Regions from separate parts of the Homo sapiens genome. Here all the other regions are linked to region 5. The links are contacts of gene promoters, found by promoter capture Hi-C in blood cells and fetal thymus (Javierre and others, 2016). All regions are on one chromosome and are shown on one strand. Each heading gives the region's core, a stretch centred on a gene start or on the middle of the fragment in contact. The rest is flanking DNA. Distances are from core to core; before and after follow the strand shown. Region 1 has its middle 12 kb from the start of TACC1. Region 2 overlaps ADAM9 (ADAM metallopeptidase domain 9). Region 3 overlaps TACC1 (transforming acidic coiled-coil containing protein 1). Region 4 holds the start of TM2D2 (TM2 domain containing 2). Region 5 holds the start of MAK16 (MAK16 homolog).

Region 1 (2,700 bases), core at 124-2,623, 5.3 Mb before region 5:
TACAGGCGTGAGCCACCGTGCCCAGCCTAAAAGTCTATCTTCTTTATCAGACTGTGTCACTGGGCCCCTTTGTAACAGCAGCCTCATCTCCACCCTCACATTACAACCTCCTCTGGGGGATTTCAGCATCTAAGCTTCCTTAGATGAAGGTATGGGAAGAACCTGCCTTAAATTTCGTTCTACATTCTTCTGAACAGGATTACATGAAAGTTCCTTCAAAGATGGAAGCATTTTTAAAAATGATAAATCTACACAGGTTGAGCATCCCTAATCCAACAATCTAAAATCCAAAACGTTTTGCTTGTCAACATGACACCACAGTGGAAAATTCCACACCTAATTTCATGTGGCCAGTCACAGTCAAAACACAGTCAAAACTTTGTTTCATGCACAAAATTATTACAACTGCTGTTTAAAATTACCTTCAGGCTATGTGTAGAAGGTGTATATGAAACATAATGAATCTCATGTTTAGACTTGGGTCCCATCCCCAAGCTATCTCATTATGTATATGCAAATATTCCAAAATCTAAAATCTGAAACACTTCTGGTCCTAAGCATTTTGGATAAGGAACACTCTACCTGTATCTCAATGATGTCTTTTCTCAGGGCAGAAAATTCCCGAACCAAAAGACTCAAGCCTGCCCCGTGGATGATGTCCTAATTATCCTAAAAACAGGACTGAGACTACCCTTCCTTCTGCCGTAATGACTTGAGCTGTGATACTGACTTTCTAGAAATTAGGCAGTTGCATTTTTAAAGATGACTGATGTGGACAAAAACGTTGAAGAAGGAGGGAGTCAATATTTAGATTTCACAAAGGCCAAGTAGAATGGATTTACATATTGATGAAGGTTATTATTTTCTTTGGGGAGATTTCCTTGAAATAATATGATTGTATAACTCCAATATTTGCCCAATTCTAAGGATAAATAATAACAATAATAAATAATAACTGACCCAAATCCTATAAGTGAATTAATCATTGTTCTTTGGCTTCAACACTAACTGGTGCTAGTGACGATTTCTAGCACACACACAAAATATTTTTAGAAATTGTTTTCTTATGGGCTCAATTAGTCAAGTTATTTTGTTGTATTATTTTATAGAACTATGACAAGCAAGAGCGAGTTTATCCTTACCGGTCTTCCCTGTACCTCATCATGTATGATATAGGAATATCTTATGTGTTTTCTGTTTCCTTTGGCCAAGGCATAGACACTGAGCAGAATATATTTGTTTTACATTATTTTCTGAACAAATGATAAATCACTGCTACAGACTGACTGTTTATATCCCCCCAAAATTCATAGGTTAAAACCTAAACTCCAATGTGAGAATATTAAGAAGTGGGGCCTTTGGGAGGTGATTAGGTCATGAGGGTTCTTCCTGGGGTCAGCGCCCTTATAAAAGAGACCCCAGACAGCTCCCTCTCCCTTCTTCTGCCAAATGAGGACACAGGGAGAAGACATCCAGGAGGTCAGCCTTCACCAGATGTGGAATCTGCTGGTCCCTTAATCATGGGGACCTCCATCCTCCAGAACTTCCAGAAATAAATGACTGGTTTATAAACCACCCAGGCAATTATATCCTTATAGTAGCCTTAACAGACTAAGATAATCACTGACTCCTAACCTAAGCATCCATCTCAGATCTCATAGAACCACAGAAATTTTTAGCTGGAAAGGACCTTTGCCAAAGATCACTGGGTCGAATATCATTCTTTTTGGAAGAAGGTTTACTCAGGCACCAAAGTGCACAACTAGGATTCATAACCCTTGCAAGGAAGGTATGAAGGTATGAATTCTGGAGTTTCCCCCCAGCCCCAAAAGATATGCCCACTTGGTATGTATAATAGAGATATGACTTCTCCCCAAAATTCACCTCATTTTAAAAGGCACTGTAAATTGTTTTATAAAGCAAATACATACAAATAGTCTTGTACTTTGTTTTAAAAGTTTTTGGTTTTCATTTTTTTTTTTTTTTTTTTGAGACGGAGTCTCACCGTGTCACCCAGGCTGGAGTGCAGTGGTGCGATCTTCGCTCACTGCAACCTCTGCCTCTGGGGTTCAAGCGATTCTCCTGCTTCAGCCTCCCGAGTAGCTGGGATTACATGCATGTGCCACCATGCCCAGCTAATTTTTGTATTTTTAGTAGAGAGGGGGTTTCACCATGTTGGACAGGCTGGTCTCGAACTCCTGACCTCGTGATCCGCCCGCCTCGGCCTCCCAAAGTGCTGGGATTACAGGCGTGAGCCACCGTGGCTGGCCTTTAAAAATATTTTTATAGCCTAGGCAACATAGTGAGACCCCATCCCTTCAAAAACAAAAACAAAAAAAAATTAGCCTGGTGTGGCAATGCACACCTGTAGTCCTAGCTACTTGGGAGGCCAAGATGGGAGGATCATTTGAGCCCAGGAATTCAAGGTTGCAGTGAGCTGTGATGCTACCACTGCACTTCAGCCTGGGCTATAGAGTGAGACTCTGTCTCAAAACAATAATAAAAAATGTATTTTTAAATACCTTTAGTGTTTAAGGCAAAATAATACATATGTTCATTCATTCATTCATTCATTCATTCATTCCACAAATTTGACAAATGACCAAGCTTTGCCAGCCTCTGCTGAACACTGTGTTGAACAAAAGAGACCCAGTTCCTGCCCTCATAGAACTTGCATATTAGTGAGCTTAGTAAGCCAAC
Region 2 (2,792 bases), core at 84-2,583, 5.6 Mb before region 5:
AACATTCTACCCAACAGTGGCAGAATACATACTATTCTCAGGCACACATGGAACTCTCTCCAGGCTCACATTTTAGGTCACAAAACAGGTCTTCAGAAATTTAAGAAGACTGAAATCATACCAAATATATTTTCTGACCAAAATGGATGAAACTAGCAATTAGAATAGAAAAAGACAACAATAAAAGCAGAAAGGAAAATGGAAAATTCACCAATATGTGGAAATTAAACAACACACTGTGGAACAACCATTGGGTCAAAAAGGAAATCAAACACAAGATTAAAAAATACTTTTGGACAAACAAAAAACACAATATGTAAAAACTTATGAAATAAAACAAAAATAATACTAAAAGGAGGACAGATGTGGTGGCTCACGCCTGTAATCCCAGACCAAGGCGGGTAGATCACCTGAGATCAGGAGATCGAGACCAGCCTGGCCAACATGGCGAAACCCCATCTCTACTAAAAATACAAAAATTAGCTAGGCATGGTGGTGCGCGCCTGTAATCCTAGCTACTGAGGAGGCTGAGGCACAAGAATCACTAGAAACCAGGAGGTGGAGGTTGCAATGAGCCAAGATTGCCCCACTACACTCCAGCCTGGACAACACAGTGAGACTCTGTCAAAAAAAAAAAATACAAGGAAAGCTTGCTGTGATAACCTATATTAAAAAAAAAAACTCAAATAAACAACCTAACTTTACAACCCAAGAAATCTGAAAAGCAACAGAAAATTTAAACCCAAAATTATCATAAGGGAAATAATGAACTTCAGATCAGAAATAAACAAAATTGAGACTAGAAAAAGAATTGAAAAATCAGCAAAACCAAGAGTTAGTATTTTTCAAAAGATAAGCAATATTAACCAATCTTAGCTACACTAAGAAAAAGAAAGAGAAGACTCAAAATCAGAAATGAGAAAGGAGACATTTCAACTGATGCCATAAATAAAAAGAATTATAAAAGACTACTATAAACATTTACACATCAACAAACTGGATCACCTAAAAGAAACGGATAAATTCCTAGAAACACACATCCCACCAAGACTGAATCATAAAGAAATAAGTCTGAACAGACCTATAAGTAGTAAGGATATGAATCAGTAATCAAAAACCTCCTAGCAAAGAAAAGCACAGGACCAATGGCTTTACTGGTGAAATCTACCAAACATTTAAAGAACTAATGCCAATCATTCTAAAAATTCACCCAAAAAATAGAGGAGGAGGAGAAAATTCCACTCATTTTATGAGGCCAGCATTATCCTGATGCAGACTGTATCACCAAGGCCAATATGCCAAATATAGAAAACTACAGGCCAATGTGCCAAACAAATACAGATGCAAAATCCTCAACAAAATACTAGCAAACCAAATTCAGCAGCACATTAAAAGTAAAATACAACATGACCTAGTAGAATTTATCCTTGGGTATAAATTGGGATGGCTCAATATACAAAAATCAATTAAGGCTCAATATACAAAAATCAATTAATGAGATCAGGTGCAGTGGTGCACACCTGTAATCCCAGCACTCTGGGCGTCTTACGCAGGCAGACTGCTTGAGTCCAGGAGTTCGAGACCAGTCTAGGCAATGTAGCAAAACCCCTTCTCTACAAAACATACAAAAATGTGTGAGGCATGGTGGCATATGCCTGTAGTCCCGACTACTCAAGAGGCTGAGGCACGAGGATCACTTGGGCCCATTAGGTCAAAGCTGCAGTGAGCTGTGTTCACAGCACTGCAGTCCAGCCTGGGCAACAGTAAGACCCTGTCTCAAAAAAAAAAAAATTTAATTAATTAAATAATGAGATATACCACATTAACAAAATGAAGGATAAAAATAGCATGATCATCTCAATAGATACAGAAAAAGCACTTGATAAAATTCTACACCCTTTCATGCAAAAAGCTCTCAACAAACTAGAAATAAAGGAAAATAACTTCAACATAATTAGGCCATATATGAAATTCCCATAGCTAAAATCATACCTAGTTGTGAAAAACAAAAAGCTTTTCCTCTGAGATCAGAAATGAAGCAAGGATGCCCAATCTCGCCACTTCTATTCAACTTAGTATTGGAAGTCCTAGCCAGAACAATTAGCAAGAAAAACTAAAAGGCATCTAAATCGGAAATGAAGCAAAACTGTCCCTCTTTTAAGATGACATGATCATACATATAGAAAATCCCAAAGAGTCCATCAAAAAACTTGTTATAACTAATAAATAAATTCAGTAAAGTTGCAGGAAACAAAACTGACACACAAAAATAAGGTCATTTTCACATACTAACAATGAACTACAAAAAGGAAATTAAGGAAACAAAGCTATTTACAATAGCATTGAAAACAAAACATTTGTGAATAAGCTTAACAAGTGAGGAAAAAGATCACACACTAAAAACTTACAAAACATTGCTAAAAGAAATAAAAGATGATACAAATAAATGGAAAGACATCCTATGTTCATGGATTGGAATAATTAAAATTGGTAAATTGTCCATATTACCCAAAGTGATCTGCAGATTCAATAAAATCCATTCCTCAGAAGAAGAAATACAAGCAGCTGCCAAACACAGGAAAAAATGCTCAACATCATTGAAAATCAGAGAATGCATATTAAAACCACAATGAGATATCATCTTACAATAGTCAGAATGGCTATCATTAAAAAGTCAAAAAAAAAAAGGCTGATCTTGGTGCAGATGCAGAAAAAAGGGAATGCTTATACATTGTTGGTGAGAATGTAAATTAGTTCAACCTCTATGGAAAACAGTATAAAGATTTTTCAAA
Region 3 (2,735 bases), core at 107-2,606, 5.3 Mb before region 5:
AATCATGGTCATAAAAATCAAACAAGATGCTGCAAACAAAGATTACTTGTTCCCAACACATCTAATAAATAAATACGGCTGAAACAGATAGCTGGTGATCTGCTAGGTGGGAATATTGTAATGGGAAAGCTGGAGATCAATCATTTATTGTCATATTTCCAGCTATGATATAAGAAAGAGGGTCCTCGACTGGCTAGGAGAGTATCTGCATCTGCCAAACTGTCAAGATACATTTTTCATTTGTGAATTAATAAAATACTCCATGCCATTATTATTATTCCCTTGTGAGTCTGGCCATCATCAATCTAAACCCTGGGGATCTAATCATGTTTGTTTGAACTCATAAAATTAGGTCATGTACATGCAAAGGTGAGGGTGAGATCTTGAACTCACAAGTAGCAAAGCCTTTCTAAGCCCAGATTTAATAGTCACCAGGCAATTTAGCAACCTTGGTTATGAAATCTCCACTGAGAGGGTTGTTTTGGGTGGATAAACCATTATCTCCCATCGCTACTCTGGATTTAGGAGAGTGTGACAAAATGGTTTATACCCTCCAAGATTTCCTCTGGGCAGTATAACTGGTAACCTGAAAAAGACACTGCAACTGCTCTTTCATTTAAATGTTTAAATGGCTTTAGGCCACATCCATTTTGTAGGTGGGACATTACATGGCAGCAATATAATTTTAGAAGGACTGCCGGCTCCCAAAACACATACACAGGTAGAAAGTGTCTCTGCCACCCGCAAGTACCAAAGTAAGTTCTACTGCTTTATTCGATGCTTGGGTAAGCCCAAAATGGGGGAGTGCAAGGTCTTGATTTTGTCACTCATCTTAAAAGAAAAATTGTGATTTGATAGTTACTAAAATCTTTCCTTTCTGCAGGTAGACTTTGCTTCCCTGCCCTGGAATTTTTTATTCAGACACTGTTGCTCCTCTGTGGTTCTGCACTCTCACAAGTTTCTGCTGGAAAAACTACACTTTTTTCCCCAGGAAGACACTCCCTTGGGTAAGGCACCATATAGAAGCAGGTGCTTCCTAGGGGCACATTTACATTGTGATAGAGCAACAACAACAAAAAAACACATGACTCTGATCTCATTTATTAGCTGGTTGGAATCTCCAACTTCAGAGCTAAAAATACATGAAAAAACAAAGTAGCTATATCATGCTAAGATTTTCAAGCTTTAAATACCTTAACATGGAATTATACAGTACAAAAAAATCAAACTGTGGAAGAGGCAATCACAGCAAAACATTAAAAATTTAAAATTAAATTAAAAGCATTAGGCTGCGATGCTGTTGAAGGAGCCACATGGGTTGGACTGCTGGACTAGGTAATATGAAAGGTCCTAATTAGTCCCATTATTTCTAGGAAACTCTAATAAAGCATTCCCTTGTTGGAGCAGGGAAAGGATGTTAAACTAAATCCTTAGGAGGATATACTTGTAGACTTGAATGGAACACTTCAATATGTACCTAATGAAAATTTTTCACATAGTATCTGATTAAACATATAACTCAAAGCTTTAGAATAAAAAATCAAAGCCTCTGATTTTAACAAGGTTTCCATGCTGTGTTTTCTATAGCACGCACACACACACACACACAAACAAACACACACACACGTGCAGTCTAAAACATTCTAAAAATACACCATATCAACCTTTTAAGAGATCTGCACAGTCAACTTACAAATTCTCATACACCCGAAGTTACATTAAAGACATTTAATGGGTTGGGTGAGGCTGGCTCATGCCTGTAACCCCAACACTTTGGGAGGCCAAGGTGGGAGGATCACTTGAGCCCAGGAGTTCGAGACCAGCCTGGGCAACACAGTGAAACCCCATCACTATTTTTTTAAAAAAAATTTAAGAAAATAAAATGTTAAAAAAAATTTAATGGGCAAAAGTTAAAAGTCTATGTGTTTGTACTTCTATTAAATGATTCCAATATTCTCCCCATTCTTCCCTAATTTCCTTTTTAAATAATTTTTATTCCTCCTTAGATCTTTGAGTCAATTGAAAATCAAGTTCATTGCAGACCAATTACATCACTTCCCCTTTGCAAATATGACAAATAGCCAGGCCACATCAGGCTCTCCCCTGGGCCTTCCCTGAACATGCAGGCCTAGACTAATGGCACCTCACGCCCACAGTTCATTTGTTCAGCAGGTATAACCTTGCACCTTTTCATTCTTAAAGCCATTTTCCCAAATTACTTAAACTCTGTATTTTTACTGAAATTGTAATAAGTATAGATGTAGGTTGACATTTTTTTTCTGTACAAGATAGTAAATATGTTAGACTTTTGCCAGACATTTGGTCTCTGTTCCAAGTACTCAACCCAGCTATTGTAGAGCAAAAGCAGCCATAGACAATACATGAATGAATGAGTATGGCTGTATTCCAATAACTTTATTTATGGGGATGACAGTGGTGGTTCAAACCTGAAATCCCAGCATTTTGGGAGGCTGAGGTGGGAGGATCACTTACTTGAGCCCTGGAGCTCAAGATCAGCCTGGGCAACATAGCAAGACCCCATATCTACCAAAATATATATTTCATATATATATAACTTGATGGGCCCTGAAATTTTGTTTTGTTTTTTTTTAAGAACTACTTTATTGAGATATAATTCACAAACCATACAGTCCACCCTTTAAAATATATGATGCAATGGTTTTTAGTAAATTCACATAATCGTGTGACCATTGATGGGCCCTGAAATTTGGATT
Region 4 (2,700 bases), core at 117-2,616, 5.5 Mb before region 5:
CCTGTGAGTTCAAAAGAGCAGGGATTATCTGTCCGGATTTAACACAGTACGAACCCAATAAAAACACAGATTTTTTAAGAATGGTTTGGCTATAGAAAGGTAGCACATCGTTTACAAAATATTCTTACTACAAAAATGACCCAAGAGAAATGAGCGTCCTCCCACCCACCTTTATTCCACCATTAAATTTAGCTGTGTTGACCCAAGGATACCATGAACGTCAAAATTTCAAATTATAACCTGCAGCAAAAGTTTCATCTCTCAGTCTCTTTCCAAGCGACATTAACTCCACGAGCGAGAGCCAGCTCCCTCCCTGCAGGCGTTTGGAGGACTGAACGCCCGCGGGCGCGCCCAGCCTGCAGGGCTCCGGCCCGCCGAGGTCAGCGCCCGCCCCAGAGCGGGTTTCGGGGCGTCTGGGGGACCCGGGGTCGCGCGAGGCGGCGAGGGATGGGGGGACGCTGGGAACGGCTCCATCGAACAGGACACGGAGGAAGCGGTGCCGGGCAGAGGACCCGGGCCAAGAAGGGCTTGGGGCGCCAAACCCCGCGCCTCGGGTGCGACCCCGGTCCGCACACACCTGGAGCGGCCGCGCCCCCCGACCCCGGGTCCGATCCCCAGGCCGGGCCCCTCCACTCCCAGGCACCACAGGTTCACTCCGAGCGCCCCGTCCCTAGGAAGCAGCCGTCCCAACCGACCCGGGGCGCGGACACCCACCTGGCCGCGCCGCACCGAGGACTGGGCCCACCAGGCCAAGCAACAGCAACCACCGGACACGAAGGGTCCCCGAGGGAAAGCGCGCGCCAGACCCCATCTCGGCCGATTCCGCAGGTTCCTCTCAGCACTCGGTCGCCTCCACCTCCGCCTCTTCCATCATTTTCCAACCCTGCCGGGGCCCCAAGTCTGGCCGGGAAGCGCGCGCGCCCGACGAGCACGCGCGCCCGACGAGCACGCGCGCGGCACTGACGCAACTGAGCCCTCGGTCCGAGCTCGCTCCCGACATCGCCTAGCTGCGCTGACGTAGGGAAAAATCCAGTCCCCGGCGCGAGAATAGGATTTCTAAACCGGCGGTGGCAACCAGCACTAGTCGGCCCGCCAGTCATATCCGCCCCGCCCCGTCGGCTGCCGGGCACGCCCACCTAGGGGGGTCGACGGATCCGATTGGAGAACGCATTCGGCGCAAAAGAAGGAGGAGCATGAGACCCAGAAGAGGAATCGAGAAGCAGAAGCAGAGGGCGGAGTAGCCCCGCCCGTCTGCTCGACCTTTTCTAGTTGGTTGGCGGAGGTGCGCGGAGCGTCGAGCTGCGCGTCCATTGGCTGTTTGGCGGGGCTACGCGGGCGGGGCTACGCGGAAAGGCCTGACCACGCAGTTCTTGGGTCTGTGCTGCTGGCCTGGGGTTGTGGTTGAGGCCGGGTCTCCGCTCCTGTGCCCGGGAAGATGGTGCTAGGTGGTTGCCCGGTTAGTTACTTACTTCTGTGCGGCCAGGCGGCTTTGCTGCTGGGGAATTTACTTCTGCTGCATTGTGTGTCTCGGAGCCACTCGCAAAATGCGACCGCTGAGCCTGAGCTCACATCCGCTGGCGCCGCCCAGCCGGAGGGCCCCGGGGGTGCTGCGAGCTGGGAATATGGCGACCCCCACTCTCCGGTCATCCTCTGCTCTTACCTGTAAGCTACCAGTGGTCGAGGCGGGTGGACGTGGAGGGTGTGCCAGGAATATATGGGTGTTAAGGGAAGGCAGGGTTGGGGGGACGCTGCATTTTTTCAGACCCTGCCTCTCTGAGGTCGTTCCGGAGGCAAATATCATGAACCAGGTTTCTCACAGCCCGTGCAGAGAAAACTCTTGTGTGTCAGTGACAGAGGCTTTGAGATCCCCAAAGAGGAAAACTGGGTAGGAGTAACATCATATAGCCTCTGGAAGAAGGGCGTAAGGTTGTGCTTTCTTTGCCCTGCGCCCTTTAGCCCAAGGAGAGTATTAGTCGGTCGATTCGGTGCCAGTACTGAGTAAGGCATAAATGGAGTAAATGACTTGTCTCTGCCTACAAGGCATCTTTTAAAAAAGCAATCAATATTCTTACCGTTGCAGAATCACGCCATTTTTTAACATCTCTTTTTGATCAAACAAGAAAAGGCATTTGGGAAATGCAAAGAGGACTGAGAATACTTTGGCTTAAATTTTGCCCCCAGAATCTTGTTGTTTGCCTACTGAAGAGATGAAACCATGGCAGAAGTAGAATCCTTATAGAAACAGGACCAGAAACACCTCCCTTCTCCAACAAAAGGTTCATTTTGGTGGCTGTCCGTTTGACCTGCTGTGCTTCAGTTTAATTGGCTTGGAAAGGGGTCAGCAGGGTGAAACCGAACCCCAGAAAACTTGATGAAGAAATGTCTTTTGCCCGTTTTGATTACGTGCATGCAAACAGCGATTTGCAAAGACCGTATGATGATGATCATGATCTTACTGGTGAATTACAGACCTGATGAATTTATAGAATGTGAAGACCCAGTGGATCATGTTGGAAATGCAACTGCATCCCAGGAACTTGGTTATGGTTGTCTCAAGGTGAGTTTTTGTTTTGTCGTAAGAGCAAACCCTTCGATAACGAAATAGGAATGTCTGAATGCTATTACATAAAAGTATAAGAGGTACAAAGTTTTTTGAAGAATTTCCTCAGAAAGACCGTTACTGGAAATTTCCAGTATGGC
Region 5 (2,700 bases), core at 67-2,566:
TCACTGCAGCCTCGGACTTTTCGGCTCAAGTAGTCCTTCTGCCTCAGCCTTCGAAGTAACTGGGACCTCAGGCGAACACCACCGCGCCCAGCTAATTTTTTATTTTTTGTAGAGATGGAGTCTCACTTTATTGCCTAGGCTGGAATCGAACTCCTGGCCTCAAGCGATCCTCCAGCCCCAGCCTCCCAAAGCGTTGGGATTACAGGCATGAGCCACTGTGTCTGGCTTGAAGCAACCTTTGTCATACCCTAGTCTCCTTGCTTTCATTTTTTCCCTCCAAAAGTCCTTCACACAGCAACTAGACAACTTTTCACAAACATAGATCATTAAAAGGCCTAAAAAACACTTCCTACAAGATTCTGCATGACCTCGCCCTGGCAAGCATATCTAATTTCATTACCTGTCTTACATTGTCACTTTGATGACCCTTATATTCATTCTCTCATATCTTCAACTCTTTGTACTTTACTGTTCCTACTGCCTGGATTGCTTTTTCCTCAGCTCCTCAGTGACTGGCTTATTCTTATCTTTTAGATCTCAACTCAAACATCTTCTGTTCAGAGAAACCTTCCCTGAGTAACCCTATCTGAAGTGTCCTTCATCATCTCTGGTCTTTCTTTCATAGTATGATTATATAGTGTAATTGTTAACTTATTTGTTCACTTGTTTACTGTGTCTCCCCCATCAGTGTTCCAGGAGAGGTGGGACATTTTTTCTGGTTAACCAAATCCTCAATAATTACCACAATGCCTGGCACACTGTAAGCACACTGTTATTTCTCCAACAAAAAACTCAATGAATGAATCTAGGATACTTCCGAAATTATGACTTAGGCAGAAGTAGAGCAAATGTAAAGAAAAGCCTACACAGGAAACGCAGATGGAAGAGTAACGCGCACATGGATGAGAAGGACGCTTAAACTTGGAGTCAGCTTCGCCAAATCCCGGGCCGCCCCCCACCCCAAGTCCGGAGCTGACAGCTGACAGCTGACAGCATGACGCGACGTCCTGCATTGGTAGGCACGAAGGACGGGACACATCGACCCCATGGGCTGAGGTGACGGAGTCCTGTGCTCACAACCCGGCCGGGGCAGCGGGCAGTAAACCCCTGCTAGACACGCGTGAGAACCTATGTTGGAAAATCGGGGTTCCGGAAGCCTCACATCCAGAGCGGCACGAGGCAACAGACCCGCTGCGTACGCGTTTTCTAAGTGTCCGAAAATGGGCAAAATTCCCTGCGCAAACCCCGGGTGTAAGAACAACCGGAGGAGACTCACATCATCCGACTGCATGGTGTCCGCGGCTCAGCGTGCAACTTCCGGTCGGATCGCGGGCGCAGACATGCTCCTTCCGGGAAACCAGTTCCGGAACGCGCAGCCTCACCTATCTCGAGAAACGCTGAGACTCTCGGTGTTGCGAAGCGTCCCCTGGCAGTCTCGTCGCCGCGCGCGCGCCCCCGCGTCTTCACCACGCTGGCGTCTGCGCGCGCCCGTCCGCAATGCTGGGCTTGTTCATGGGCGCAGCCTGGAGCTGGGAACCCTGTTGGGACCCAGTGCGATCCGCGGGAGGCAGGACGCGCGCAGTCTGCCGAATCCTGGAGCGCGGGGACCGCGGGGGTCGGGCGTGCTTCCCTAGCGCCCTGTTTGTGACCGTTCATGAGGATGGGACCCCTCCCTGTCGGGCCTCCCCTCTGCTGGGAGGAGGCTGGGGAAAGCTGCAGGCGGCGCGGCGGGGCTGGGTCCCCGCTCCTCCGAGTCCCCCGGCCCCAGCTCGCAGCCAGGCCCCGGCCCTGCCCCTCAGACCCTGACTTAGCCACTCCCCACGCCCACGTTGGGTGCGGCACCGGGTCCTGACTTTAGAAACTCAGAACTTGAATTCCTCCTGCTTTGAGAAACCACTGACCAAATGGAAAGAGCATTCCAATAATAATAAACACCTGTGTCTTCCTCATTGCCTATTTGAGACAACAAACAAAGTTGATAAGGGAGGGAAAATACCAAGAAGAAAAGTAGAGGTCTAATAACCCACAAAAACAAATCTGGAAGCCTAACAGCTCTTTTCCGCCAGGGGAAAAAGAAAATCTTTACTAGTTTGTATCGTATTATAGAAGAAAGACTGTCGGCCGGGCCGGGCGCGGTGGCTCTCGCCTGTACCTCAGCACTTTGGGCGGCCTAGGCGGGCGAGTTCCAGACCAGCCTGGCCAACATAGTGAAATCCCGTCTCTACTAAAAATACAAAAATTAGTCGGGCGTGGTAGCAGGTGCCTGTAATCCCAGCTACTTGGGAGGCTGAGGCAGGAGAATCGCTTGAACCCGGGAGGCGGAGGTTGCAGTGAGCCGAGATCATGCTGTGGCCCTCCAGCCTGGGTGACAACCAAAACTACCTCTCAAAAAAAAAAAAAGAAAAAGAAAAAAGAAAAGGAAAGAAAGACTGTCAAGAGGCATTTGAACCAGAGCAACCCCATCTTGAATAGTGGCTGGGTAAAATAAGGCTGAGATCTGCTAGGCTGCATTCCCGAGGGTCAGGCCATCTAAATCACAGGATGAGGTCAGCACAAAATACAGGTCATAAGGATGTTGCTGATAAAACAGATTGCAGTAAAGAAGCCAGTCAAGACCCACAAAACCAAGATGGCAATGAGTTTGACCTCTGGTCGTCCTCACTGCTACACTCCCACTGGCGCCACAAATGCCATGGCAAC

Evidence for each region. The method cuts DNA at HindIII sites, captures the fragments that hold promoters and counts their contacts. A CHiCAGO score of 5 or more calls a contact.
Region 1: a fragment that was not itself captured here is called in contact with the fragment with the promoter of MAK16 in region 5 in 1 of 17 cell types (naive CD8 T cells); the score reaches 6.2 in naive CD8 T cells.
Region 2: a contact is called between a fragment that was not itself captured here and the fragment with the promoter of MAK16 in region 5, in 1 of 17 cell types (M0 macrophages). The highest score is 6.6, in M0 macrophages.
Region 3: a fragment that was not itself captured here is called in contact with the fragment with the promoter of MAK16 in region 5 in 1 of 17 cell types (total CD4 T cells); the score reaches 6.2 in total CD4 T cells.
Region 4: a contact is called between the fragment with the promoter of TM2D2 here and the fragment with the promoter of MAK16 in region 5, in 3 of 17 cell types (monocytes, total CD8 T cells and non-activated CD4 T cells). The highest score is 6.0, in monocytes.

Annotation. Positions count from the first base shown.
Region 1 is chr8:38,774,301-38,777,000 of GRCh38, reverse strand. It overlaps a transcript of TACC1 not described here. Among named protein-coding and RNA genes, the nearest start is that of TACC1, 12 kb to the left of the region's middle. The HindIII fragment of the contact is 2,473 bases long and covers 137-2,609 here.
Region 2 is chr8:39,045,775-39,048,566 of GRCh38, reverse strand. All of the region lies in intron 12 of ADAM9 (ADAM metallopeptidase domain 9), which reads right to left. Among named protein-coding and RNA genes, the nearest start is that of SNORD38D, 28 kb to the right of the region's middle. The HindIII fragment of the contact is 1,364 bases long and covers 652-2,015 here.
Region 3 is chr8:38,793,437-38,796,171 of GRCh38, reverse strand. All of the region lies in intron 2 of TACC1 (transforming acidic coiled-coil containing protein 1), which reads right to left. Among named protein-coding and RNA genes, the nearest start is that of TACC1, 7.6 kb to the right of the region's middle. RefSeq lists an enhancer at 1,907-2,201. The HindIII fragment of the contact is 342 bases long and covers 1,186-1,527 here.
Region 4 is chr8:38,995,175-38,997,874 of GRCh38, reverse strand. TM2D2 (TM2 domain containing 2) reads left to right here and starts at 1,366. Exons shown (of 4, transcript NM_078473.3): 1 at 1,366-1,662; 2 at 2,470-2,557. The coding sequence starts at 1,436. ADAM9 (ADAM metallopeptidase domain 9) reads right to left here and starts at 902. Exons shown (of 22, transcript NM_003816.3): 1 at 715-902. The coding sequence starts at 811. RefSeq lists a silencer at 266-695 and enhancers at 706-1,015, 1,026-1,075, 1,136-1,235, 1,396-1,585, 1,194-1,715 and 1 more. The HindIII fragment of the contact is 5,467 bases long and covers 1-2,700 here.
Region 5 is chr8:33,483,798-33,486,497 of GRCh38, reverse strand. It overlaps MAK16 (MAK16 homolog), which reads right to left and starts at 1,316. Exons shown (of 10, transcript NM_032509.4): 1 at 1,277-1,316. The coding sequence starts at 1,291. RefSeq lists silencers at 1,309-1,496, 1,707-1,896 and enhancers at 1,387-1,536, 1,524-2,160. The HindIII fragment of the contact is 3,746 bases long and covers 1-2,700 here.